Linked DNA regions of Homo sapiens: regions 1, 2, 4, 5 and 6 are each linked to region 3. Evidence: promoter capture Hi-C in 16 types of primary human blood cells and fetal thymus (Javierre and others, 2016). All regions are on one chromosome and are shown on one strand. Each heading gives the region's core, a stretch centred on a gene start or on the middle of the fragment in contact. The rest is flanking DNA. Distances are from core to core; before and after follow the strand shown. Region 1 overlaps SLC22A4 (solute carrier family 22 member 4). Region 2 holds the start of IL5 (interleukin 5). Region 3 holds the start of SOWAHA (sosondowah ankyrin repeat domain family member A). Region 4 overlaps MIR3936HG (MIR3936 host gene). Region 5 overlaps SLC22A5 (solute carrier family 22 member 5). Region 6 holds the start of CARINH (colitis associated IRF1 antisense regulator of intestinal homeostasis).

Region 1 (4,098 bases), core at 281-2,780, 470 kb after region 3:
AGCTTCAGGGTGGGGGCTGGTCACCAGAAGACTAAGCCTGGATTAGAAGCCTGGAACCTCTGGGGAGAGGAGAGAGGCTGGGGATAGACTTAATAATCCATCATGCCAACATGACTAAACCTCCATGAAAACCTCTAAATGATGGGGTTTGGAGAACTTCCGAGTTGGTGACCACATCCACATGCCAGGAGGGCAGTGCACCTTAACTCCGTAGGGACAGAACCTCTGCACTCAGGACCCTTCCAGACCTCTCTGTATGTACCTCTTCATCTGGCTGTTCATTTGTATCCTTTGTAAGAAACCGCTAGTGGCCAGTGTTCTGAGTGCTGTGAGTCATTCTAGCAAATAATCAAACCCAAGGAGGGGATTTGTTGGAACCCCAGACTTGGTAGCAAAGTCAGAGAGAAATGTGGGTAACCTGGGGACCTGACATTTGTGAGTGGCAAGTGAAGCAAGGCAGTATTGTGGGACTGAGTCTTTACACCTGTGGAGTCTGATGCTAAATTTAGGTATTGTCAAAATTGAACTGCATTATAGGACACTCAATAGGTGTCAGAATTGGTTTGCGTCAAGAAGAAAAACCCTTGCGCAATCTCATAAGCCAAAAAAAGATGTTGAATTGTTTTATTTTTGCATTTCCTTATTAATGTGGACAAATAACTTTTTTCATGTATATATTGGACACTGAAGTGACTTCTTCTGTAAACTGTCTGTTCTTGTCCTTTGCTGGTTTTCCTACTGAATTGTTTGTCTTTTTCTCACTGGTTACTATGAGCTTTTTGTATATTAAGTATATTAGCCTTATGTTTAGGTTTTGTGTAGCAAATATTTTCTCCTGGCTTATTGACTTTTGTCTTTGTGGGTGGTTTCTTTTTGCCTTGCCAATAATTTAAAAAATGTACAATCAGATATATCAATCTGTTCCTTTATGGTTCTTTGATTTTATGTTATGCTCAGTAAGATCTTCTCTAAGGTTATAAAAATGTTTGTTTCCTCCTGGTATATTTATGATTTTACATTTTTAGGCCTAAATTTTTTAACTGTCTGGATTTTATCTTGATGTGTTTTTTTTTTGGAGACGGAGTCTCGCTCTGTCACGCAGACTGGAGTGTAGTGGCGCGATTTCGGCTCACTGCAACATCCACCACCCTGGTTCAAGCGATTCTCCTGCCTCAGCCTCCCGCGAGCTGGGATTACAGGGGTGCGCCACCATGCCTGGCTAATTTTTGTATTTTTAGTAGAGATGGGGTTTCACCATGTTGGACAGACTGTTCTCGAACTCCTGACCTCAAGCAATCTGCCTGCCTCAATCTCCCTAAGTGCTGGGATTACAGGTGTGAGCCACCATGCCCAGCCAATGCATTTTTTAAAGAGACAACTTTTTAATTTATTCAAAATGTCTAGCTGAATGTTCTAATACCTTTTACTGAATAACTATTCCCCCTTGACTTTGCTACTTTTTATTACATACTGAATTTTTATATTTTCTTGGGTTTTATCCTGAACTCTATCCTATTCCATTGGTTTCTATTCCTATACCATTATCACATTGTTTTAATTACTATTGCTCAACAATATGCTTTATTACTATTATTATTATTTTTGAGACAGAGTCTAGCTCTGTTGCCCAGTCTGGAGTGCGGTGGCATGATGTTGGCTCACTGCAACCTCCACCTCCCGGGTTCAAGCAATTCTCCTACCTCAGCCTCCTGAGTAGCTGGGACTACAGGTGTGTGCCACCATGCCCAGCTAATTTTTGTATTTTTAGTAGAGACAGGGTTTCACCATGTTGGCCAGGATGGTCTCGATCTCTTGACCTCATGATCCGCCTGCCTCAGCCTCCCAAAGTGTTGGGATTACAGGCATGTGCCACCGCGCCTGGCCTATTATTTATTTATTTTTTTTGAGACGGAGTTTTGCTCTTGTTGCCCAGGCTGGAGTGCAGTGGTGTGATCTCAGCTCACTGCAACCTCTGCCTCCTGGGTCAAGCAGTTCTCCTGCCTCAGCCTCCTGAGTAGCTGGGATTACATGTGACTGCCACCACACCCAGCTAATTTTTTGTATTTTTAGTAAAGATGAGGTTTCACTATGTTGGCCAGGCTGGTCTCAAATTCCTGACCTCAGGTGATCCACCTGCCTCAGCCTCCCAAAGTGCTGGGATTACAGGCGTGAGCCACTGTGCCCAGCCAACAATATGCTTTATTATCTGATAGAGCTAGTCTCTACTTATTACTCTTCTATTTCAGAACCTTCCTAGCTATTCTTCCATGCTTATTCTCCCTAAGGCATTTTGGTATCATTTTGTTAAAAGTCCTACTTACCATTTCACTTTCTGCATCTGCTCTAAGGTTTCTGGAAGAGTCATTCCCAAACTTTCAGGGAAAAAAAGGGTGAGGATTCCAATCAGGACAGTCAGACTACCCATGACGATGTAGGGCAGCATTCTGTTGTAAGCACCTGTAAAGCCCGGGACATAAGAACATCAATCAGATAGGAGGACTCTCTGGGCACTCTTGAGCATCATTTTGTGAAGTTGGTGAACAGTATAAGAGAATGGATTTAAATCTGAACATTTTCAGAGAAAAAAAAGTAAGCAAAATATCAGTTTCTTTTTGGCAGATGACATTGTGCATGTCTATAATCCTTTTGCATTATCATAAGGCTTTTCATTCTTTCCTGTCAACTGGTATCCTCTAAGCTACTACTCAGTCATGTGTGACAGATGTTCCTTTGGTAGAGTTCTTTGCCTACCAGAGTTCTCCTCTTAAGGTGGAGGTAATTGGAAATGGGGGATGGGAGGACATCAAGGAGAAGGAGGTTAACCAGGATGTTTCAGGGATAGGTTTTGGCTATGATAGGTCTGGCATGACTCTGCTTTTGCCCAAACTAGTAGGCTGCAGTGGAAAGTTAGGTCCACAGGGCTATGAGACTCAAAAAAAAAAAAAAAAAAAAAAAAAACAACTAAGTATTATGTTCACTTCAGATTAAATCAGTAAATTATAAGTATCAGGCACATTCTGTAAAGGCACTGTGTGCCTGGATTTGGCTTCTTTTTGGAGCACTTACATGTCTTGGGTTAATATGTAATCTCTTTGTGAAGCTTTACTCACACAGGAGAAAAACAGATCCTCATCTTGCTTTGCCCCTGTATACATACAGAGCTTACAGAGGAACAGCACACCCATGGATTTCATTTGACCCAAAACATAAGGAAAATATTGTTATTGCAGCTTCTCTGAGGCCTCTGTGTCACTAACAGGAGTAGCTGTGTGGAGTAGGAGACTCTTGGACTCCCTGTCTTATGTACCAGTGTCTGACCACTGGACCATCTGAGCATAGTTTGAAATAGTTTGAAAGTACAGGGAAGGACAAAGGGAAAAATAACACCACTCTGTATAATCTGCTATCTCAGGTGTGGCACAGGGCAACTGTGCAGAATATGTTTGTTAGGAAAATGTTTCTCTTTCTCTGTAAGGGTTTGGATTATACCTTTCCTGAGAATTCATACATGTTTTCAGGTGTGTGTGTGTGTGTGTGTGTGTGTGTACGTGTGTACCAGTAGGTAACCAATTGCCCAATTGATGAGGTGTGTCTGCATTTCTCACCAGTAGAGTCCTTAATGAGGACCAGGCATGGGGTGTCAGATCCTACATCAGATTGAACATGCCGCTGAAACACCTCTGTAGTTTCATTTCAGATTGACACCTTTGAGTATATAAAAACTAAAATTGTCTTCATTACAAAGATATCATAAAGTGAAAATACAAATGGTAAACTAGGAAAAATATTTACAACATATATACAAGGGGCTAATTTCTTCCATTGCAAAGAGTTTGCACAAGTCAAAAAGAAAAAGATGAATACACCTGTTGCAGGAAGTTAGGGACCCCGAAAGGAGGGACTGGCTGAAGCCATGGCAGAAGAATGTGGATTGTGAAGATTTCATGGACATTTATTAGTTCCCCAAATTAATACTTTTATAATTTCTTACGCCTGTCTTTACTGCAATCTCTGAACATAAATTGTGAAGATTTCATGGACACTTATCACTTCCCCAATCAACACCCTTGTGATTTCCTATGCCTGTCTTTAATCTCT
Region 2 (3,969 bases), core at 629-3,128, 270 kb after region 3:
TCAGAGAGAACGCTCTCATATTCTCTGGGAAGAGAAAGCTCCTGCCAGAACTCAGCTTCTTTTCTGAGAATACCATTTTAAGAGCACTTTGACCAAGCCTATTGTGATTCCTACTCCCGAAAATCTCACTCCCGATAGATTTTCTGAAGTGAGCCAAACTTCTGCAGTCTCAAGGAAACATTTCTCAAGGAAAACATTTCTCAAGTGCGCAAATCAGACACATCTAACCAAGAGTCCAAAACTTCAGCACAAACAAAACCAAACGTGGTACAAGAAGGCCGCCACTGAAATCCAAGACTGTCTTTATCTTTCCAGTGCAGAGCTGGGATTGAGTATGTATGAAAGGTGTGTCTACCTCCCAGCTGCCTCTACTTCTCCTACACAACTGCACCTAGCTTTGGAAAACTGTTCTGGGCAACAGTTTGTGTTTGGTACCATCTGTTCTTGACGCTCAAGACAGGCCTGAAGTCAGGCTTCTAGGCTGCAACATAGAGCCACTCTGGGATGCTCACTGAAGCACTCTATTAAAAACAATGAGCCACATACACCTCCATCATATGTGTTCAGGCCAGGGAAAAAGGAAGTGTGTGATCTAGGAGGGGGCCTCATTTGTACCTTTCTGGGATTACAGGTCTGAGCCTAAGGAACAAAGGCTGATTCCCCTAATTTCATGGCCCGCCCAAGGTGTGAAAGGACACCTCCACCCTTATGGGACATAAAGGAGAGGACACATCCATGTATTGTGTATCTGTGACAGATATTTATTGGTTGCCTTCCTAGAATCTGTGTCCCCCTTACTACTGGGACCCCACATTTCTAAGCTATGCAGTTGAGGTAGGATTAGGGTCACCTCTAGCTCCAGGGAGAGCCAATCAGTATATACTACACCCTGGTCACAGTTCAAGGATGAACATGTGACCCTTGTCAGAAAGAGACTGAATTTGAAAGCTTTTGATTAAACAATCAGAAAAGCACAGCTTGCTTTTTCCTGCTGCTCATGAACAGAATACATATAGATCCAGGAGTCTGGACATCATCTTGAGACCTCAATGGGAAAGGTGCCCAAGGATGGAGTCAAGGAAGAGTCACTGAAGCCATCAAAATGTAAAAGAGCCTCCATTCCTGGACTGTTTGGTTCTATGAGCCAATACCTTCCCTCTTTATCTTCAACAACTTTAGGTTAGGTTTTTAGTCACTGGCAACAGAAAGGATCCTAATCAAGACCCCAGTGAACAGAACTCGACCCTGCCAAGGCTTGGCAGTTTCCATTTCAATCACTGTCTTCCCACCAGTATTTTCAATTTCTTTTAAGACAGATTAATCTAGCCACAGTCATAGTAGAACATAGCCGATCTGAAAAAAACATTCCCAATATTTATGTATTTTAGCATAAAATTCTGTTTAGTGGTCTACCTTATACTTTGTTTTGCACACATCTTTTAAGAGGAAGTTAATTTTCTGATTTTAAGAAATGCAAATGTGGGGCAATGATGTATTAACCCAAAGATTCTTCGTAATAGAAAATGTTTTTAAAGGGGGGAAACAGGGATTTTTATTATTAAAAGATAAAAGTAAATTTATTTTTTAAGATATAAGGCATTGGAAACATTTAGTTTCACGATATGCCATTATTAGGCATTCTCTATCTGATTGTTAGAAATTATTCATTTCCTCAAAGACAGACAATAAATTGACTGGGGACGCAGTCTTGTACTATGCACTTTCTTTGCCAAAGGCAAACGCAGAACGTTTCAGAGCCATGAGGATGCTTCTGCATTTGAGTTTGCTAGCTCTTGGAGCTGCCTACGTGTATGCCATCCCCACAGAAATTCCCACAAGTGCATTGGTGAAAGAGACCTTGGCACTGCTTTCTACTCATCGAACTCTGCTGATAGCCAATGAGGTAATTTTCTTTATGATTCCTACAGTCTGTAAAGTGCATAGGTAATCATTTGTGATGGTTCCTTTACTATATATAGAGATCTGTTATAAATAATAAGATTCTGAGCACATTAGTACATGGGTGATAACTACATCACCAGCAAACATTCTGTTAAAAGTTATGAATGCTGGTGTGCTGTAAAAATGATTGTATTTCCTTTCCTCTCCAGACTCTGAGGATTCCTGTTCCTGTACATAAAAATGTAAGTTAAATTATGATTCAGTAAAATGATGGCATGAATAAGTAAATTTCCTGTTTTAAGCTGTAAATCATTAGTTATCATTGGAACTATTTAATTTTCTATATTTTGTTTTCATATGGGTGGCTGTGAATGTCTGTACTTATAAATATGAGGAATGACTTTTTATCAAGTAGAATCCTTTAAACAAGTGGATTAGGCTCTTTGGTGATGTTGTTAGTTTGCCTCCCAAAGAGCATCGTGTCAGGGATTCTTTCCAGAAGGATTCCACACTGAGTGAGAGGTGCGTGCTAGTCTCCGTGCAGTTCTGACTCTTTCTCACTCTAACGTGTTTCTGAAAGTATTAGCAACTCAGAATTATATTTTTAGAACCATGATCAGTAGACATTAAAATATATAACAAATGCCCTATATTAATAATTTCTGCATACTTAAATAATTATGACTATATGATGGTGTTGTATGCATTTGAATATGTCCTGGTCATATTAAAATGTAAAATATATAGTTTTATTAGTCTAAATAGAATAAAACTACCAGCTAGAACTGTAGAAACACATTGATATGAGTTTAATGTATAATGCATTACACTTCCAAAACATTTTTTTCCAGTTACATAATTAAGTTATATCCTTTATAAAACTCCTCAGTAATCATATAAGCTTCATCTACTTTTTGAAAATTTTATCTTAATATGTGGTGGTTTGTTGCCTAGAAAACAAACAAAAAACTCTTTGGAGAAGGGAACTCATGTAAATACCACAAAACAAAGCCTAACTTTGTGGACCAAAATTGTTTTAATAATTATTTTTTAATTGATGAATTAAAAAGTATATATATTTATTGTGTACAATATGATGTTTTGAAGTATGTATACATTGCAGAATGGACAATGGACCAAATTTTTATACCTTGTCTTGATTATTTGCATTTTAAAAATTTTCCTCATTTAGCACCAACTGTGCACTGAAGAAATCTTTCAGGGAATAGGCACACTGGAGAGTCAAACTGTGCAAGGGGGTACTGTGGAAAGACTATTCAAAAACTTGTCCTTAATAAAGAAATACATTGACGGCCAAAAAGTAAGTTACACACATTCAATGGAAGCTATATTTGTCTGGCTGTGCCTATTTCTATGGAATTGACAGTTTCCTGTAATACCTATTGTCATTTTTCTTTTTTCACAGAAAAAGTGTGGAGAAGAAAGACGGAGAGTAAACCAATTCCTAGACTACCTGCAAGAGTTTCTTGGTGTAATGAACACCGAGTGGATAATAGAAAGTTGAGACTAAACTGGTTTGTTGCAGCCAAAGATTTTGGAGGAGAAGGACATTTTACTGCAGTGAGAATGAGGGCCAAGAAAGAGTCAGGCCTTAATTTTCAGTATAATTTAACTTCAGAGGGAAAGTAAATATTTCAGGCATACTGACACTTTGCCAGAAAGCATAAAATTCTTAAAATATATTTCAGATATCAGAATCATTGAAGTATTTTCCTCCAGGCAAAATTGATATACTTTTTTCTTATTTAACTTAACATTCTGTAAAATGTCTGTTAACTTAATAGTATTTATGAAATGGTTAAGAATTTGGTAAATTAGTATTTATTTAATGTTATGTTGTGTTCTAATAAAACAAAAATAGACAACTGTTCAATTTGCTGCTGGCCTCTGTCTTAGCAATTGAAGTTAGCACAGTCCATTGAGTACATGCCCAGTTTGGAGGAAGGGTCTGAGCACATGTGGCTGAGCATCCCCATTTCTCTGGAGAAGTCTCAAGGTTGCAAGGCACACCAGAGGTGGAAGTGATCTAGCAGGACTTAGTGGGGA
Region 3 (4,164 bases), core at 1,228-3,727:
TGGAAAAATATAATTCCAAAAGGTTATTACGAAAGTTGCATTACCTCATTTCAATTTAAAAACAGAATAAAAGCATCAAATTACAAAACCACCACATATCTTAAAGCTGACAACCTAACATCTTTCAACATTTAAAGAGACCCTTGCTCTAGCTCTGTCTTGGGATTGTGTAGCTGCAGAGGCATCAGGTGAAGGCTTTCAGGGGCCAGACCAGCTGCTGCCCCTTAACCTTTGACCCTGGATTTCAAGTTCCCTCTAGAGTTCAGGCCTGTCTCCTGGAGTTCTTTATAGGAAGCTCTCACTGATTTCTCAAATCCCATCTCTGGAGATGGGTCATGCTTCAGAAAGAAGCTGGAGGTGCAGGCCCATCTGGGTAAAACAGGCTGCCCTGGACAAAGCTGGAAACAGAATGAGGCTCCAGGCGTTGATTGGGCTGCAGTCTTGGGCGGGTTTGGACTGCGACGAGCAGGCCACGATAGATCAACCAGGTGGTAGCCCCAGGGACCTTCAGGTTGTTGGAGGCAAACTGGGCACTAGACCAGCTAAAGGCCCCGGAGTAGGTCGACGAGAGATTTCTGAGAAGGCTGGCAGACCACCGCGGATCTTTGTCTTTTTACGTGGAGCCATGGGCGAGGCGCTCAAGAACTTGCTGAAGGAGCTCGACTTCTTCAAGCCTCGGGCCAGGTCCTGGAGCATGAGGTCGTCAGCCAGGACGCCCAGAAATGCACTGGTGGTGGAACTGAGGATGGTGGCGGCCACCTGTACGGGGCGCCTGGCAGCAAGACTGCCACTTCCACCACCGGTCGCATCTGGCTCCGTGGTGCCTCGCAGGCCTGGATCGCCAAGAAGGCGGCGCAGCGCGTACGAGGAGCCGGGCCGCAGGTACTGGTAGGCGCGACGCCCGCTGTGATCACGCACGTGCACCTGGGCACCCAGACGCACCACCAGCAGCACGGCAGCGTCCTCGTGGCCGTGCAGTGCAGCCAGGTGCAGCGGCGTGTAGCCGCCGTGGGAGCGTGCGTTCACGTCGACTGGTGCGCCACTGCGCCGCGCGACCTCCACCAGCTGCAGCGCCATCTCGCCGTCGCCGCTCTTGGCGGCCCAATGCAGGGCCGTGAAGCCAGACATGAAGTCGCGCTTGGCCGCCAAGCCGCGGTCGCGCAGCAGCAGCCCGTGCAGCTGGTGGGTCCAGCGGCCCCCGGCAGTCCGCACGAGCCACTCGTGCTCGGACGGCTCCAGGGGCACCGCGGACGGCGGCGGCGCGGCGGGCAACTCCTCGGCGTCAGGGCTCAGCAGACGCGGGCCGGCGCGCGACAGGCGCCTCAGGTGCGGGGAGCGGCCCGGGCCCAGGCCGAGGCCCAGACCGGACTCTTCCACCGAGAGCCGCCTCAGCAGCAGAGGGGAGCTCCGCGGGCTCGGCTCCTCCGACAGCTGCCGGCGCAGGCCGGGCTCCTCCGCCCGGAGGCGGAGCGTGGCGGGGGCCGGGACGCAGCGCACCGGCAGCATACAGGGCTTCTGCTGCGGCGGCCCTTTCGCTGCCCCGGGCCCGGGCTCCGCGTCTGGCGGATCAGAGCAGGGCGATGCCGCCTCAGAAGGGGCCCTAGGCGGTGGGGCCGCGTCTGCGGAGGGTCTCTCGGTGGCCTGGGCTAGCTCAAGGGCTGGAAGCGGTGGGTCGGCGGACCGCTCCCCGGGCGGCTGAGCGGGCTCGGAGGCCGGCCCCCCCGGGGTGTCCTGTGGCTCTGTTGGCAGACCCAGGTCCCCTGGCGGCTCCACTGGCCGCGGCACCCGGACCAAGGGCGGAGCTCCCGGGGCAGAGGCGCTCCGCGGCAAGACCGTCGAAGTGGGTTTCGACGGCTGGGCCGCTGCCCCCGGGGGGCCGAAGGGTGCGGGCTCGGGCTCCGGGGGCCGGGGCTTCTTCCTCAGCACCACGAACTTGACGCCGTCGAGCTCCTTCACCACCGCCACGTTGTTGACGAACTGCTTGAAGCGGTCCCTGCGGGCGGCGCGGCCCCGCGGGTCGCCGGCATCGAGCAGCGGCTTGAAGCGGCTCAGCAGCTCGGAGTTGCGCACCTTCCCGCCGTGCTCCTGCAGGAAGCCCAGCACCGCCGCCTGGCTCACCCCGGCAGCCGCAGCGGCGGCGGCGGCGGCCAGCGCCATGGTGGGGCCCTGGGTTCCTGGCTCCCGGGGCGGGTGGGCGCCGCGTCGCCGCGGGACGCGCGGGAGCGGGGTTCCGGGAGGCGCGGCCGCGCTCACCTGGTGCCTTCCCCGCGGCCAGCCGGGCGTGTCCCCGAAGCTGGACCTCGGTCGCGCCAGTGCCGCTGGGCCGGGGCGTCTCGGGGCGAAGGGCGCCGGGGGCCGCGGGGAGCGCCCACCCCCAGCGCCCCGCCGGGCCCCGGCCTTCGGGGTAGGTTTCTGCCTTTGTATTCTGTCCAATGGGCGCCTGCTTCCATCCCCCGCGCCGCGCTCGCCTTACAGGTGACAGCTGCCCCCGCGATGCAGAGGGAACCGGAGCAGAAATTCCCGCCGCCCCCCGCCCGCCCCAGAATTAAAGGCGCAGCGCTCCAGCTCTGGTCTCGGTTGCTAGGTGGGTGTGTTCCCTAGGGACGCCGCGGTCCGCCAAGGAGGAATGGATTTTTATTCCTTTAATAAACATTTAACCACTGCAAAACACCAAGCGATGATTTCAGAACAATCTTTTTTTTTTAAAGGTCGTCAATACCACTCCAGTTTTTTTTTTTTTTTACTGTGTTTCATGCAGGAAAACGGCTTCATGAGATTTACAGCAAAACCAATTCACTCTGCGCGGCAATGCACGTTACTCTAGGTTTAGAGAGACGTTTTCAAAAGCAATTTTCTCATGGTAAGAGAATACATTTTCACGTAGAATTTGGGGTATAAAACCACAGGAAACATAAACATAACAGGAAAACATAGAGGAAAACATAAAGAAGGAAAAAAAATCACTTGAAATCACCATTAACATTTTGAAATATCCTCTCCCTGTCTCCCATGTGTGTATGTATGTTTATGCTTTAAAGTAAGAAAGCAATGCGGAGTCATGCCATGGTTTTAAACCTTCGTTTGTTCCACAGATAGGTATTGAGCACGTAGTTTGTGCCAGGACTTTTTTTTTTTTTTTTTTGGCTAAGATGCGTCAGTTAGCAAGACAGATTTAAAAACCCGTGACCTAGTGGGGCTCATGTGTTGGAGGAGAACAGAAGCATATGGTGAATCCGAAAACTATATGATATACTAAATACATGCTATGAAAAAAGCACAGCGGGGTATAACGGATGAGGGTCAGGTTGCAATTTTGATCTGGGCAGTCAGGATAGTACTCGTTGTGAAAGTGACATTTAAACAAGGACTTGAAGGAGATCAGGGAGTTATGTAGACGGGGAAGAGGTTTCTAGTTGAGGGAACTGCCTGGCAGAGGTAGAATCAGTTCCTTAATTTAAAATGCAGGCCGGGCGCGATGGCTCACGCCTCTAATCCCAGCACTTTGGGAGGCTGACTTGGGCGGATGATCTGAGGTCAGGAGTTCGAGACCAGCCTGGCCATCATGGTGAAATCCATCTCTACTTAAAAATACAAAAATTAGCTGGGTGTGATGGCACGCACCTGTAATCCCAGCTACTCCGGAGGCTGAGGCAGGTGAATCGCTTGAACCCGGGAGGTGGAGGTTGCAGTGAGCTGAGATGGCGCCACTGCACTCCAGCCTGGATGACAAGAGCAAGCCCTGTCTCATAAATAAATAAATAATTGCAGTACTACAAATATATCTAACCAGAAGCAGCATATTGTAGTAGCTGAGAAAACAAGACTCTGGAGTCAACATTCTACACTTGAGTTCTGGCTCTACCTTGGGCAAATGCCTTGACTTCTCTGTGCCTCAGCTTTCTTGTCTGTAAAGGAATGAGGAAAATAGTACTTACCTGCTCAGATGGTTGAGAGAATTAAGTGAGAAAATAAACACAAAAGACTTAGCATAATGCTTGGCTTACAGTAATCATTTGAATTATTATTAGTAGTATAGTCACTACTATTAGTATTACTCAAAAGGAAAACAGAAGACTAAAATGTAAAGGGTCCCCTTTCCCCAATCCAATCCCCAGGGGCAATTTCTGAGTTCAGCCCTGTCCCCAAGATGCAAACAATTTAAAC
Region 4 (4,094 bases), core at 842-3,341, 450 kb after region 3:
TTCTAGAATAGATGGAAAAGACATTAGTGAGGGCCAATATAGAAATATGAGTTTTCCCAAAAGACTTTTATGTATATATATGACATGGCAGGAAAATTGGGTCACTAGTGGTTTTTACTTCTTCGTTCATTTGGCAAACATATGAATAGACTGATGTGTGCCAAACACTGTTCCGAGTTCTGGGAACTGAGGAAAGAAACAAGCTATCTGTTTTCATGGAGCTCGTATTTTACTTGGAGGATGGAGAGGCTGACAATAAACTTGTACAAATAAATACAAACTTCAAGTAGTGGTAATTGCCAAGGTGAAAGAAAAGAGAGTAATGGTATAGAATGACAGTCATTGGGTAGCTGCTTTAGATGAATGGTAAGTGAACATGTTTCTGAGAAAGTGATATCTGAGCTGAGAGGCAAAGGACGAGAAGGAATCTGTCATGTGAAGATCTGGGAAGCAGGTGTACTAAGCAGAAGAGCAGCAAGTACAAAGACTGTGAGGTAAGGGATGTGCTCGGGGTGACTAAGTAACGGAGAGAAGACCAGCGTGACTAGAACATAGTGATCAAAGTGAGTAATGTTGGAACATAAGTCAGAGACATTGGCAGGAGGCCAGTTTTTATGGAAGCCAAATTGTCTAGTGCCTTGTAGATAGTGGCAAGGAGTTTGGATTTTATTCTAGATGGAACACTACCAGAATATTTTTTCTTTTTTGAGACAGGGTCTCACTGTCACCCAGGCTGGAGTGCAGTGGCATGATCTTGACTCTCTGCAACTTCTGCCTCCTGGGCTTAAGTGATCCTCACACCTCATCTTCCCCAGAAGCTAGGACTACACGCACCACACCTGGCTAATTTTTGTATTTTTTGTAGAGATGGGATTTTGCCATGTTGCCCAGGCTGGTCTTGAATGCTGCCCACTTTGGCCTCCCAAAGTGCTAGGATTATAGGTGTGGGCCACCGTGCCTGGCCTATCAGAGTATTTTCAGGCAGAGAAAAGCATAAGGTCTTACTTCTAGCATAAAAGGAACATTCTGGCTGCTATATAGAGAAGGGACTGTAGAGGACAAGAATGAAAGCAGGTTGACTGATTAGAAAGCATTGCAGCATTATAGGCAAGAGCTTATGATGGCCTGAACTAGAGTGGTAACTGTGGAAGAGATAAATGGATGAATTCAGAATATTTTTGGAGGAAAAAGGTGACATGATTTACTATTGGATGTGGGCATGAGGGAAGGAAATTAAGGATGACTCCTGGATTTTTAGCCTGAGCAACTTTATAGCTTTTCATGTTTGTTTTTGAAATGGGGAGATTTGATGGGGTGGGGGTTTGGGAAATTAAGAGTTTTTTATTTTTATTTTTTGCTTTTTAAAAATTGTGGTGAAATACACATAACATAAAATTTACCATTTTAACCACTCTTAAGGGCATTAAGTACATTCACATTGTGCAACCATCACCATCATCCATCTGTAGAGAACTCTTTTCATCTTGCAAAATTGAAACTCTGTACCTATTAAACACTAACTCCCCACTCCCCTCCTTACCCTAGCCCCGAAAACCCTTCTATAATACAGAAGTCTCTATGAATTTGACCACTCTCATAAGTGGAATCACATAGTATTTGTCCTTTTGTGACTCGCTTTTATTGTCACTTAGCATAATGTCTTCAAGGTTCATCCATGTTGTAGCATATGTCAGAATTTCCTTCCTTTTTAAGACTGAATAATATGCCATTATATATGTATACTACATTTTGTTTACCCATTCATCCACTGATGGACACTTGGGTTGCTTCCATCTTTTGCCTGTTGTGACTAATGCTGCTGTGAACATGTATGTACAAGTATCTATTTGAGTACTTGCTTTTAATTCTTTGGGTATATACCCAGAAGTGGAATTGCTGGATCATGTGGTAATTCTATGTTTAATTTTTTTAAGGAATTGCCATACTGTTTTCCCCGGTAGCTGTACCATTTTACATTCCCACCAACAGTGCACAAGAGTTCCAGTTTCTCCACGTCCTCGCCAATACTTGTTATTTTCTGTGGTTTTGCTGTTGTTGTTGTTTTGTTTGTTTTTGTTTTTTTACAGAAGCTATCCTAATGGGTATAAAGTGGTATTTCATTGTGGTTTTATTTGCATTTCCCTAATTATTAATTATGTTGAGCATCTTTTCATGTGCTTATTGGCAATTTATATATTTTCTTTGGAGAAATGTCTACTCAACTCTTTTGCCCATTTTAAAATCAGGTTTTTTTTTTGTTGTTGTTGAATTGTAGGAGTTCTTTACATATTTGGGATATGAACCACTTATCAGATACATGATTTGCAAATATTTTCTCCCATTCTATGCCTTTTCACTATTGATTATATCCTTTTACGCACAGAAGTTTTACATTTTTGATGTAGCCCAATTTTTCTATTTTTTCTTTTGTTGCCTGTGCAAGAGTTTTATTTTAAATGCAATTTTGGGATGTCTATTAGACATCCAAGTCAAAATGTCAAATAGACGGCTGGATATATGAGTCTGAAGGTCATAAAAGAGATCAGAATGAGATATAAATTAGGGAATCATTCACATATAGATGGTATTTAAGGCCATGGGTCTGGACAGAATCACCCAGGAGAGAAGTCATATAGGAACACATAGGTTTCCCTAGGGAATACAGTCATCTTAGAGTAAAATTCCATCGAAGGAGATCAGGAGGTCTTGGCTGAGTTAAATTTGGATAATATAAGTTATTAACTATGTTAATGTGTTCTAAGCTAGATGCCAGGTTAAGGCAGAAATTAGGAGGTCCTGGGCAAGTATCAATTTGCTCTGCTATTGTATTATTACAAGAATAATACTAACAATAGTACATGACCTCATTTCATCCTCACAATAGCTTTACGCGATTGATATTCTTGTCTTCACTTTACAGGCAAAGAAACAAAAGAGAAGTAAAGTAATTTACCCAGTTGCTATAGTTAGCATGTGGTAGGTCCATATTAGAGGTCTGGTCTGTCTGCATGATGGTTAATTTTATGAGATAGCAAGTAAAACATTATTTGTGTCTGTGTCTGTGTCTGTGAGGATGTGTTCGGAGAGGTTCACAAGCATTTGAATCAGTAGACGGAGCAAATAAGGTCCGCCCTCACCAATGTGGGCAGGCATCATCCAATTCACTGAGGACTCCTGCTCACACAGAACAAAAAGTCAGAGGATGTGCCTATAGTTCCAGCTTCTTGGAAGGCTGCGGCAGGAAGATGCTGGGGCCCAGGAGTTTGAGGCCAGCCAGGGCAACATAGCAAGACCTTTCTCTTTAAAAAAATTTTTTTTGGCTGGGTGCAGTGGCTCATGCCTGTAATCCCAGCACTTTGGGAGGCCGAGGCAGGCGGATCATGAGGTCAGGAGATCGAGACCATCCTGGCTAACATGGTGAAACCCCGTCTCTACCAAAAATACAAAAAATTAGCCGGGCGTTGTGGTGGGCACCTGTAGTACCCGCTACTCAGGAGGCTGAGGCAGGAGAATGGAGTGAACCCCGGAGGCGGAGGTTGCAATGAGTGGAGATTGCACCACTGCACTCCAGCCTGGGCGACAGATCAAGACTCCGTCTCAAAAAAAAAAAAATTTTTTTTTAAGGCATAGGAAGGGCAAATTCTCTCATTCTCTCTCTTCTTGAGCTGGGACATCCATTTTCTCCTGCCTTCAGGAAATCAGAGCTCCATGTTCTTGGATCTCCCGACTCTGGGACTTACACCTTACCCTTTTCCCCTCAGTCTTTCAGACTTGGACTGAATTACACCATCACCTTTCCTGGTTCTCCAGCTTGCAGATAGCATGTCATGGGACTTCTTAGCCTCTGTAATCATATGAGCCAGTTCATATAGTAAATCTCCTCCTATTGATCTATACCTATATCTGTAATCCTATTAGTTGGGTTTCTTTGGAAAACTCTAATACCCCCTTATCCACAGTTTTTTTTTTTTTCTGCAGTTTCAGTTATCTACGGCCAACTGGGTAAACCAAATAGGTGAGTACAGTACAATAAAATATTTTGAGAGAGAGATGCACATTTGCATGACTTCTATTACAGCATATTGTTATAATCA
Region 5 (4,305 bases), core at 1,806-4,305, 430 kb after region 3:
AGTGGGTTCAGTTTGAGTCTGGCCAGTACTGGCTGACACCCACTTTCATTCAATGTTTATTGAGCATCTATTATAGAGGGCACTTGGATATCAATAAATTAAAAAAGATGCTGTTTCTGCCCTTAAGGAGTGTCATAGTATAACTGGTGAAACACATATTAACCACATTTTAATCTAACAACACGCTACTGAATATACAATTACACACTGAGTCAAGTGCACTGAAGGATCGGCATGCAGGTTAATGAGAGGCACAAGGAAGGAAGCTACCCTGGACTGGGGGTAAGGGTTGGGGAACTGGACATTCAGGGAGGGTCTCCTTGATCATGGGACACTGAGATGGGAAAAAATAGTTGACGATGGGGGATTTAAGGTGTAGGGACCAAGCTCTCAATGATATTCACAGTATAGTGCGGAAGACCAACATTAATCCTATAATAACACTTTTTTTCCCCCAATTTCTGGTAGACGTTTTAAAGGAAAGTCATAAGGAACTAGGGATCCTGAATTAGCCAGCATGGTTAAAGAAGGCCACAGGGGGTGGGTTGGGGTGGGTGGGGAATGCTTCAGACTCTGAGAAGACCACACACCCCCATGGCTGGAGGGGGCATGGTGAACATGAGGAACCAGTGTGGTTGGCATCAGGCGTGCAATTCAAGAGTACAGTGGTGGCTAGGAGGCAAATTGCACAAGGTCTTGCAACTATGTGGAAGAGTTTGGTGTTTTTCCTCAATAAAAGAGGTTTTTTTCTGTTGTTGTTGTTTTTTTCCATCACTTGGGGTTCACTGGCATCTAATGAGTAGAGGCCAGATATGTTGTTAAATATTCTAAAATGCCCAGGAAAATGCCCTAGAACAAAATTATTTGGCTCAAAATGTTAATAGGGTCGAGGTTGAGAAACTCTCGCCTGGTAGTAGACTCTACTTTCCCCTGCATGGTTTTTTTAACAAGCATGTTCTATATGCCAACCAAGGGGTGGTTCCTAACCACAAGGCAGGCTGGTATAATCTCTATGCCCTTTCCCTTCCTAAGAGCTCCCTGGGATGGTAGGGAAGAGACAGATCCAGAGAACCCTTTACATAGCACCAGTCCTTGGCAGTTCAGGGTTGGGGCCAGAAATGTTTGCTTTTAAAGTCTGTCAACAAAATGGCAAACACACACATACCTGGAAACAGGACACAGCAGTCTACTTCTTCCTAGAGTTGTGCATCTCTTACAAGTCAGACGCATAAAGATAACTCAATAGTGTTACATAAAGGGCTTTGACAACCCAGGAGTACTTTAATTGCTCTTGAATTTCAGACATATTCATAGGCCAGAAAGAAGGTGAAACCTTTATACTATATAAAAAGTTACATTGATGTCCTAGACAAGTTAGGGCATGAATTGATTGCTTTCAGGTAATCTACTTAGCTTAGGTTTTAGAACTGGTTTACTCAGAAGTAATGCACTCAGAAGCTGTCCATCCCACAGGGCCCTGGGCCTTCCAAGGGGGCACAGACAGGCTTGAGGCAGGGCATTGGGAATTGAAGGCAGGGGCTGCAGGCAGAACAGCCATACTTTTAGCCACTTAGGGTGTATTTCATTTACTAGACTTAAATTATCCTACTTTAATGAAAGTTCTGTGGCCAAAATGTTTAGAAAGGTTTGAAAAACACTATATTAGCCCTTCTGTAGACTAAAGTGGTCCTAAACACACTCACAAATTTTGTTTCCAGTTTCCCTGGGAATAGACCTTTTGGAACTTAAATGCTTTCCTCAGGTAATCATTGTGTCACATGGCAAGAAGGTTCTTAAGCTGACCCATGACACAGCTGACCCAGAAAAATACACTGCATTTCTACTCTGAACTTGGGGTATCTCCTTTTCACATCAAGGGCATTCTTCTGAGCCGCAGCTGTCACTTAGCTCCGTGAGAAGGAATCTCCCATGTCCACTCAGGTGGCCTCTAAGCATAGCACAATCCTCCCCCAGTTCCCCCCTCCCCTCCCCACTCCCCTCTCCCCAGGCAACCTCATCCCTATCTGGGGCTCTGCTGAGGGTTCTATATGCTGACAAATCCTACATGTGTTTCTCTAGCCAAAACCTCTCATGCAGTACCATATCCATACAGCCAGCTTCACACTCTACTTCTCCACTTAGGGGTCTCATAGTCACCCCAAATTTAGTACACACAAATTGAACTCAATATCCATGAACGTGGTTCTTTTCCAGCATTCTCTGTCTTAGAGAAGTGTACCTTCATTCACCCAGTTACTCAGGCCAGAAAGCTTTCTTCCCCCAATTCCGACATCCAGCCCATCGGCAAGTCTTGTTGATTTTACCTCTTACCACTTCCCTCCATTTCTACCACCGTCATGCTAGGCCATGCCACCATCATCTCTGGCATGAACTACTGTGACAACCTTTTAATTGGTCTCTCTACAACACCTTTTGCTTCCCTTCAATTCTTTCTTCACAAGGTTGTCAAAGCATCTTTAAAAAAAAAAAAGGACAAATCTGATTGTCACACTATTGCTTTAAAAAATCTCAGTAGCCCACCGCTGCTCTGTGGCTGAAGCCCAAAGTCCTAACTGTGATCCACTAAGCCCTGGTTGCTCATCTGCCCAGGGCTCTGCCTGCCTCTCCCCTTCATCTTAACACCACTCTCCGCACCTCTACCACACGGACTTTGTCCTGCTCCCATGCCTTTTCATGAGCCCCGGCTTTAGCACTTGCTATTCTCCCTGCCTGGATGTTCTTTCTCCTCTCTACCCCTCAGCTGGCTACTTTCGACTCATCTTCCCACTCTCGCTCATGCTTCACCTTCTCAGGGATGCTGCCCCTGACCTCCTCTGTTAGACACTCCTGTGGCACCCTGCACTTCTCTGTATCTCTTACCATGGCCAAGGACAACAACGACTTCCTCACTTGGTTGTTTAATACATTCCACCTTGCTAGAAAGCAAGTTTTAGGACAGCAGGGACCTAGAACAGTAGTCCATACACAATAGAGGAGCAAGACTACCTGGGTCCAAATCCTAACTCTGCCACTTGCCAGCTGTGAAACCCTGGGCAAGTTATTTAATCCCTCTGTCTCACTTTCTCCATCTGTAAAGTAGGAATAATAAACAGGTTAACCTGCTTTTTAAAAAAAAATCTGGCTGGGCAGGTGCAGTGGCTCGCGCCTGTAATCCCAGCACTTTGGGAGGCCGAGGTGGGTGGATCACCTGAGGTCGGGAGTTTGAGACCAGCCTGACCAACATGGAGAAACCTTGTCTCTATTAAAAATACAAAATTAGCTGGGCATGGTGGTGCATGCCTGTAATCCCAGCAACTCGGGAGGCTGAGACAGGAGAATCTCTTGAACCTGCGAGGCAGAGGTTGCAGTGAGCCGAGATCGTGCCATTGCACTCCAGCCTGGGTAACAAGAGTGAAACTCCTTTTCCAAAAAAAAACAACAACAATAAAAAATATCTGGCTGCGCATGGTGTCTCACGCCTGTAATCCCAGCACTTTGGGAGGTTATGGAGGGAGGATTGCTTGAGGCCAGGAATTAAAAACCAGGGAAGATGCTGGGACTCCTTTCCACCGGCTAACCCACCGATTTGTGGGGTGTTCTCACATGTGTCATGTGGCCAAGGACTTGCTGAAGGCTGCTACTCTCTTCACAGTCTTCTCTGACAGACCCTGAAGCTCCAGGGAAAGAAGACACAACATAATGGACCCCTCTAAGAACTTCATGAAAGCTACGGACCTCTCTCCAAAAAAATGCTCACATGTAGTCTCTAACATTGTGCATATAATTTCGAGGGGTTTGGGATTCTCTAAGCCGTTAATGTTTCCTTGAGTTAAAAGCTTTAGAATTATACAAATAACCTGCTTATAAGAAATGGATCAAAACACTATTCTCCCTCCTGTCATAAAGTAAATGCCAAAACCACAGGCCACTTAGCTAAGGGGCATCAGCCTTGTGGACAAAAGAGTTCTGCTTTTCATACCACTAGTGGCTGGTGAGAGCTCCTTTCACTTTGCAGAGAGAATGCTGGTCTTCTTGGGACTACAGAGGCAGACACCGTGGCACTACTACAGATCTACAATCTAGCACATGTGCATGTGTGCATGATGTCAACCTCTCCCATGCTCAGGGGCATGACAGAGTCACAGTGACCCAGGGGAGGCAAGCCAGGCTACTGCAGAAGTGAATCATGGCATATTACCTAGTCAACCGGGTCACAGATACATTCAGCTTAGACAGCTCAGGTTTCTTTACTTAGCAAGAATTACGGAGTCAGATTTGTTGGCTCTTCTTACTAGGCATGGAGTC
Region 6 (3,880 bases), core at 1,263-3,762, 400 kb after region 3:
TGAATTTATTACAAAAGCATATGACTAAAGAAACATGAAAAAATGGAATAATAAACATAAGGGCAGAATCAGCAAAATAGAGGACATAGAGGACCAAAAAAAAGGTGGTTAACAAAACTTGAAGTATTTATTTGAAAGTAGACAAACCTCTAGTGAGACTGATCAAGAATAACTGACAGAAGATTTTTTAAAAATGAGATTACAGAAAAAGGAAGAAATGACAAATAAAACAGACATTTTAAAACTTATAAAGGAATAATATAAACACATGATAATACATTTGAAAATACAGATGAAATGAATAATTTCTAGACAATAAAAATTGCCAAATTTGGCACAAAAATGTGAATAACCACTTAAGAGACTCAAATAATTTTGAAACCTCTTCCCCATAGAGTTTCAGACCCAGAAGATTTTACAAGTGCCTCCTACTAACTTCCAAGGAGCAGAAAATCTCTATCTTAATGGAGTTGCTTTAGAAAATAGAAAAAAAGAGAAAACATTGCCCAATTTGTTACTTGATTTTGAAATGTTAAATATGGACTGTACAAATAAAGAAAAATACAGGATAGTTTCACTTATAAACATAGATGTTAAACTCCTAAATAAAATATTATCTAATCAAATACGAAAGTGTATTACAAATACATCATGATAAAGTAATTCACCACATTAGTCGATTGTGGAAGAGGTTACTAGTGCTCACCAGTCTCTCGTTCTTTTCCTCCTGGGAACACCACCAGGCTACATTTCCCAGCCACCTTACAATTAGGTGAGACCCATGAGACTAGTCCATGCCAATGGAATGTGAATGGAAGTGCATCTAATTTTCTGGCTCATGAAAACAGCAGCATTTTCTCTATTTTCTTTTTTTCTTTCTTTGTTTTTTTTAGACGGAGTTTAGCTCTTGTTGCCGAGGCTGGAGTGCAGTGGCGCGATCTTGGCTCACTGCAACCTCCGCCTCCCGGGTTCAAGCAATTCTCCTACCTCAGCCTCCCAAGTAGCTGGGATTACAGGCATGTGCCACAATGCCTGGCTAATTTTGTATTTTTAGTAGAGACGGGGTTTCTCCATGTTTGTCAGGCTGGTCTCAAACTCCCGACCTCAGGTAATCAGCCCGCCTCGGCCTCCTGAAGTGCTGGGATTACAGGCGTGAGCCACCGTGCCCGGCAAGAGCAGCATTTTCTAAAAGCAATCAGTACTCAACACCATCCTGCTGAGGTAGGGCAGCGGCGGACTCCATGTTTTGAAACTTAGGAACTTAGACCATCTTTTGTCAAATTCAGATGGTTTTCTCAAAGTAAAGATCATTCAAGTTTTGTTTCAGTAATGGGCCGTATGATCAGATCTGTGTGATTAGGCTGAATTCATTATTATTGAGACAAAAATTGAGTTAAAGGGGATTCTTGGTATTGGCCTGCAAAACCTGTCATAACTTAAATGTAAAGTTTCTGATGATTTAGTCACTTTACTCTCAGCTCTTAGCTCTTTCACTCACCTGTCCTTGTTCTACACAACCTGCCTGATGGGTAACTTGAATACATATTTTCTCTCTTCAGGGGATGGGAACGCCCTAAGGGCAGGGGCTGTTTCCACAGCCCTGGGGTGGAACCCCCTTCCTGCATACCAAGAATGAGTTGGCTATACTTGACGAAGGGCAAAGACAAGGTGGCACGCATCTTTCATGCTTCTGCTGGCAGATGCAGTGGACTGGAAATTTCCTGGTCTGGGAAGGACTCGGTCTGTGAGTGCACCTATCCCTGACATCTATGCTAGCCCCGGGATGGGGGCCCCAGCAGAGTAAGGCCCTGACTTCACATGGACAGGGCCAGGGCAAGGGGGCCACATCCTGGCCTAGTTGCTCTCCATGCCCGTGATCAAGGGAGATGAGCTGCCAGCTTGCTCGGTCAAGGAACACTTGGAAGGCACTCCAAGTGCCCCCAGGTGCACCAGATCTAGGAAACTTAAGCAAACTACATGAGGTATGGGGTGGGGCCCAGTGGGAAAAATGAGTCTGACAGGTCAGAGGGAGTAGATTATGAGCTCAGGTTAGGCATTCTGTTCAGCATTTTACGTACACCCTCCCACTTTTGATTTTTACCAACACCCAGGGAGGTCGGTGCTCTACAAAAGGGAAAGGCGTGCTCAGGTGGCCCGACTTGCCACGGTTCCAGCTCGACCCCGGGCTGCTAGCCCCTTGGCACGCTTGTCTGAGGCCTCCCAGGTCTTCCAGCCTGGCCTGGAGGCTCAAAGCCACGAAACCCAAGGGTGCCGCTTCTCAGGCCCTCCCCGCCCCCACGGCAGAACCCCTGACCCTGCCCGGGTCAAACGCCTGGCGTCGGGCCCGCCGGGTCCGCAAGGAGGAGCCCGCGAGGCGGCCGCGAAGGGGCTGTGCTTACCTCGCCCGGCGCGGGTTGCGGCCCCAGGGCCCGCGCTCCAGGCTGGCGGCCGCTGCATTCTGCGCCCCTCGCCTGAAACGGCAGCTGCGCCAGTCCTGGCCACGACCGCTTTCATTTTCCTCAACGACATCGGCAGGAAAGCGAAAGCGAAACCCTCCGGGAGGCGGGACCGGGGCCGAGCGCGCAGTGAACGCGGGGCGCGCGGCGGGCGCGGGCCGGCAGCCAGAGGCGGGGGCCCCGGGCTCGGGTCTGCGCGTGGCCTGGCCCGGTGGCGTTCGGGGTGGAGCTGGGCCAGCCGAGTGCCCGAGAGCTAGTCCGCCACGCACACCTGCCTCGGCGGGACCCGGGCCCGGGCTGGGCGGGAGGCTGGGCAGGCCCGCCGTAAGTGGAAAGGCGCCCGCGGCGCTTCGGCCGACCGGGACAGGTTCCTCCATCTGCCCTTCATTCAGCGTTTACTTGGGCCTGTGGCTGGCAGCCGGCCCGGGACCTGACCGCTGGCGGCGCCTCGGGCTCTGGCCTGAGGAGGCAGATGGCAGCCTGAGCAACTGGGACCAAGCCTCTGAGGAGTCCCCGTTGGAGGGGACTTGACCATGAGGTACCAGGCATCTCATCTGGGGTCAGCGGAGAACCCAAAAGTCAATGACGTCGGTGAAATGGGGGTCCCTTCATCCGATAAGAGAAACTGGAACAGCAAGCCTATGGTTTGGACTCCCTGGTCTAAGCGGTGCCCATCAATATCTAAACATTTAGAGATTCCAGGTTTCAGTGTCTGGCCGTCTCTTACTGTCAGTGATTTGGGGCAAAATATTCAAGTAGTTAGACTTAATTACTTCCCCTGTGGGATGGGAATAATAATAATCATACCTACTGCCAGAATTTTAGGAATGAACAATAGAAGGAAGAAAATACTTAAAATTTTCTGACAGCCTCTAAGTGGGTTCCTTGAGGGCAGCAACCAAGTCATTTACCTGGATGCTTGATAGACATTCTCTAATGGCCAGTCCATCAACTTGGAGCTATCTCCATGATAACAGGTTAGTTGTCAAAGTTTGGACAATATTATCTGGAGTTTAAAGACTGAGGAAGCCCTGCAATTTTTTTTGGAAGGTGTCTGAAACTTAGCCTGACAATTAGCCCCCACAATTATGCCACGGAACCAGGTTTTTGTTAGAGTGGAGCATGGCCACAACGTTTGATGGACATTCCTACAGCGGTGTTCAGCGCTGGCCACTGAGGTCTGAAAATACTTTTGCAAGCATTTCTATTCACTTGCTTTTAGAAAACATTGGTAAGACACCATACTCCAAACACAGTTTGCCCTGTCTGTACGTTTGTTGCAAAGCAAACATAAAAGTTTTTGCCATAGAGCAAACACAGAGCAGTCTGTTATAACTGGAACAAGAAACCAAAATGAGCTATTAAATCTGCCCAGAGTCACTTTGGTTTACCTGTTTGTAATTTGGGCACATTCCCTGCAAGAT

What was found. Contacts are between HindIII fragments. The CHiCAGO score rates a contact against its expected background, and 5 or more counts as called.
Region 1: a fragment that was not itself captured here is called in contact with the fragment with the promoter of SOWAHA in region 3 in 1 of 17 cell types (neutrophils); the score reaches 5.6 in neutrophils.
Region 2: a fragment that was not itself captured here is called in contact with the fragment with the promoter of SOWAHA in region 3 in 6 of 17 cell types (endothelial precursors, erythroblasts, M2 macrophages and 3 more); the score reaches 7.5 in endothelial precursors.
Region 4: a fragment that was not itself captured here is called in contact with the fragment with the promoter of SOWAHA in region 3 in 5 of 17 cell types (monocytes, total CD4 T cells, naive B cells and 2 more); the score reaches 7.5 in monocytes.
Region 5: a fragment that was not itself captured here is called in contact with the fragment with the promoter of SOWAHA in region 3 in 17 of 17 cell types (monocytes, endothelial precursors, M0 macrophages and 14 more); the score reaches 21.2 in monocytes.
Region 6: a contact is called between the fragment with the promoter of CARINH here and the fragment with the promoter of SOWAHA in region 3, in 11 of 17 cell types (megakaryocytes, M1 macrophages, endothelial precursors and 8 more). The highest score is 8.1, in megakaryocytes.

Annotation. Positions count from the first base shown.
Region 1 is chr5:132,338,924-132,343,021 of GRCh38, reverse strand. SLC22A4 (solute carrier family 22 member 4) reads right to left here. Exons shown (of 10, transcript NM_003059.3): 9 at 2,322-2,457. All of the region lies in intron 5 of MIR3936HG (MIR3936 host gene), which reads left to right. Among named protein-coding and RNA genes, the nearest start is that of MIR3936, 25 kb to the left of the region's middle. The HindIII fragment of the contact is 3,144 bases long and covers 1-3,102 here.
Region 2 is chr5:132,541,269-132,545,237 of GRCh38, reverse strand. It overlaps IL5 (interleukin 5), which reads left to right and starts at 1,716. Exons shown (of 4, transcript NM_000879.3): 1 at 1,716-1,903; 2 at 2,112-2,144; 3 at 3,095-3,223; 4 at 3,329-3,793. The coding sequence starts at 1,760. The coding sequence ends at 3,427. The HindIII fragment of the contact is 1,855 bases long and covers 951-2,805 here.
Region 3 is chr5:132,811,615-132,815,778 of GRCh38, reverse strand. SOWAHA (sosondowah ankyrin repeat domain family member A) reads right to left here and starts at 2,477. Exons shown (of 1, transcript NM_175873.6): 1 at 1-2,477. The coding sequence starts at 2,157. The coding sequence ends at 508. RefSeq lists enhancers at 332-832, 833-1,333 and a silencer at 1,373-1,442. The HindIII fragment of the contact is 6,134 bases long and covers 1-4,164 here.
Region 4 is chr5:132,360,001-132,364,094 of GRCh38, reverse strand. It overlaps MIR3936HG (MIR3936 host gene), which reads left to right. Exons shown (of 8, transcript NR_110997.1): 4 at 3,979-4,015. Among named protein-coding and RNA genes, the nearest start is that of MIR3936, 3.6 kb to the left of the region's middle. The HindIII fragment of the contact is 7,264 bases long and covers 1-4,094 here.
Region 5 is chr5:132,378,623-132,382,927 of GRCh38, reverse strand. The region is part of intron 2 of SLC22A5 (solute carrier family 22 member 5); the gene reads right to left. Among named protein-coding and RNA genes, the nearest start is that of MIR3936HG, 11 kb to the right of the region's middle. The HindIII fragment of the contact is 1,566 bases long and covers 2,273-3,838 here.
Region 6 is chr5:132,409,561-132,413,440 of GRCh38, reverse strand. It overlaps CARINH (colitis associated IRF1 antisense regulator of intestinal homeostasis), which reads right to left and starts at 2,512. Exons shown (of 4, transcript NR_161242.1): 1 at 2,400-2,512. RefSeq lists silencers at 2,214-2,503, 2,574-2,873 and an enhancer at 3,114-3,163. The HindIII fragment of the contact is 5,230 bases long and covers 1-3,880 here.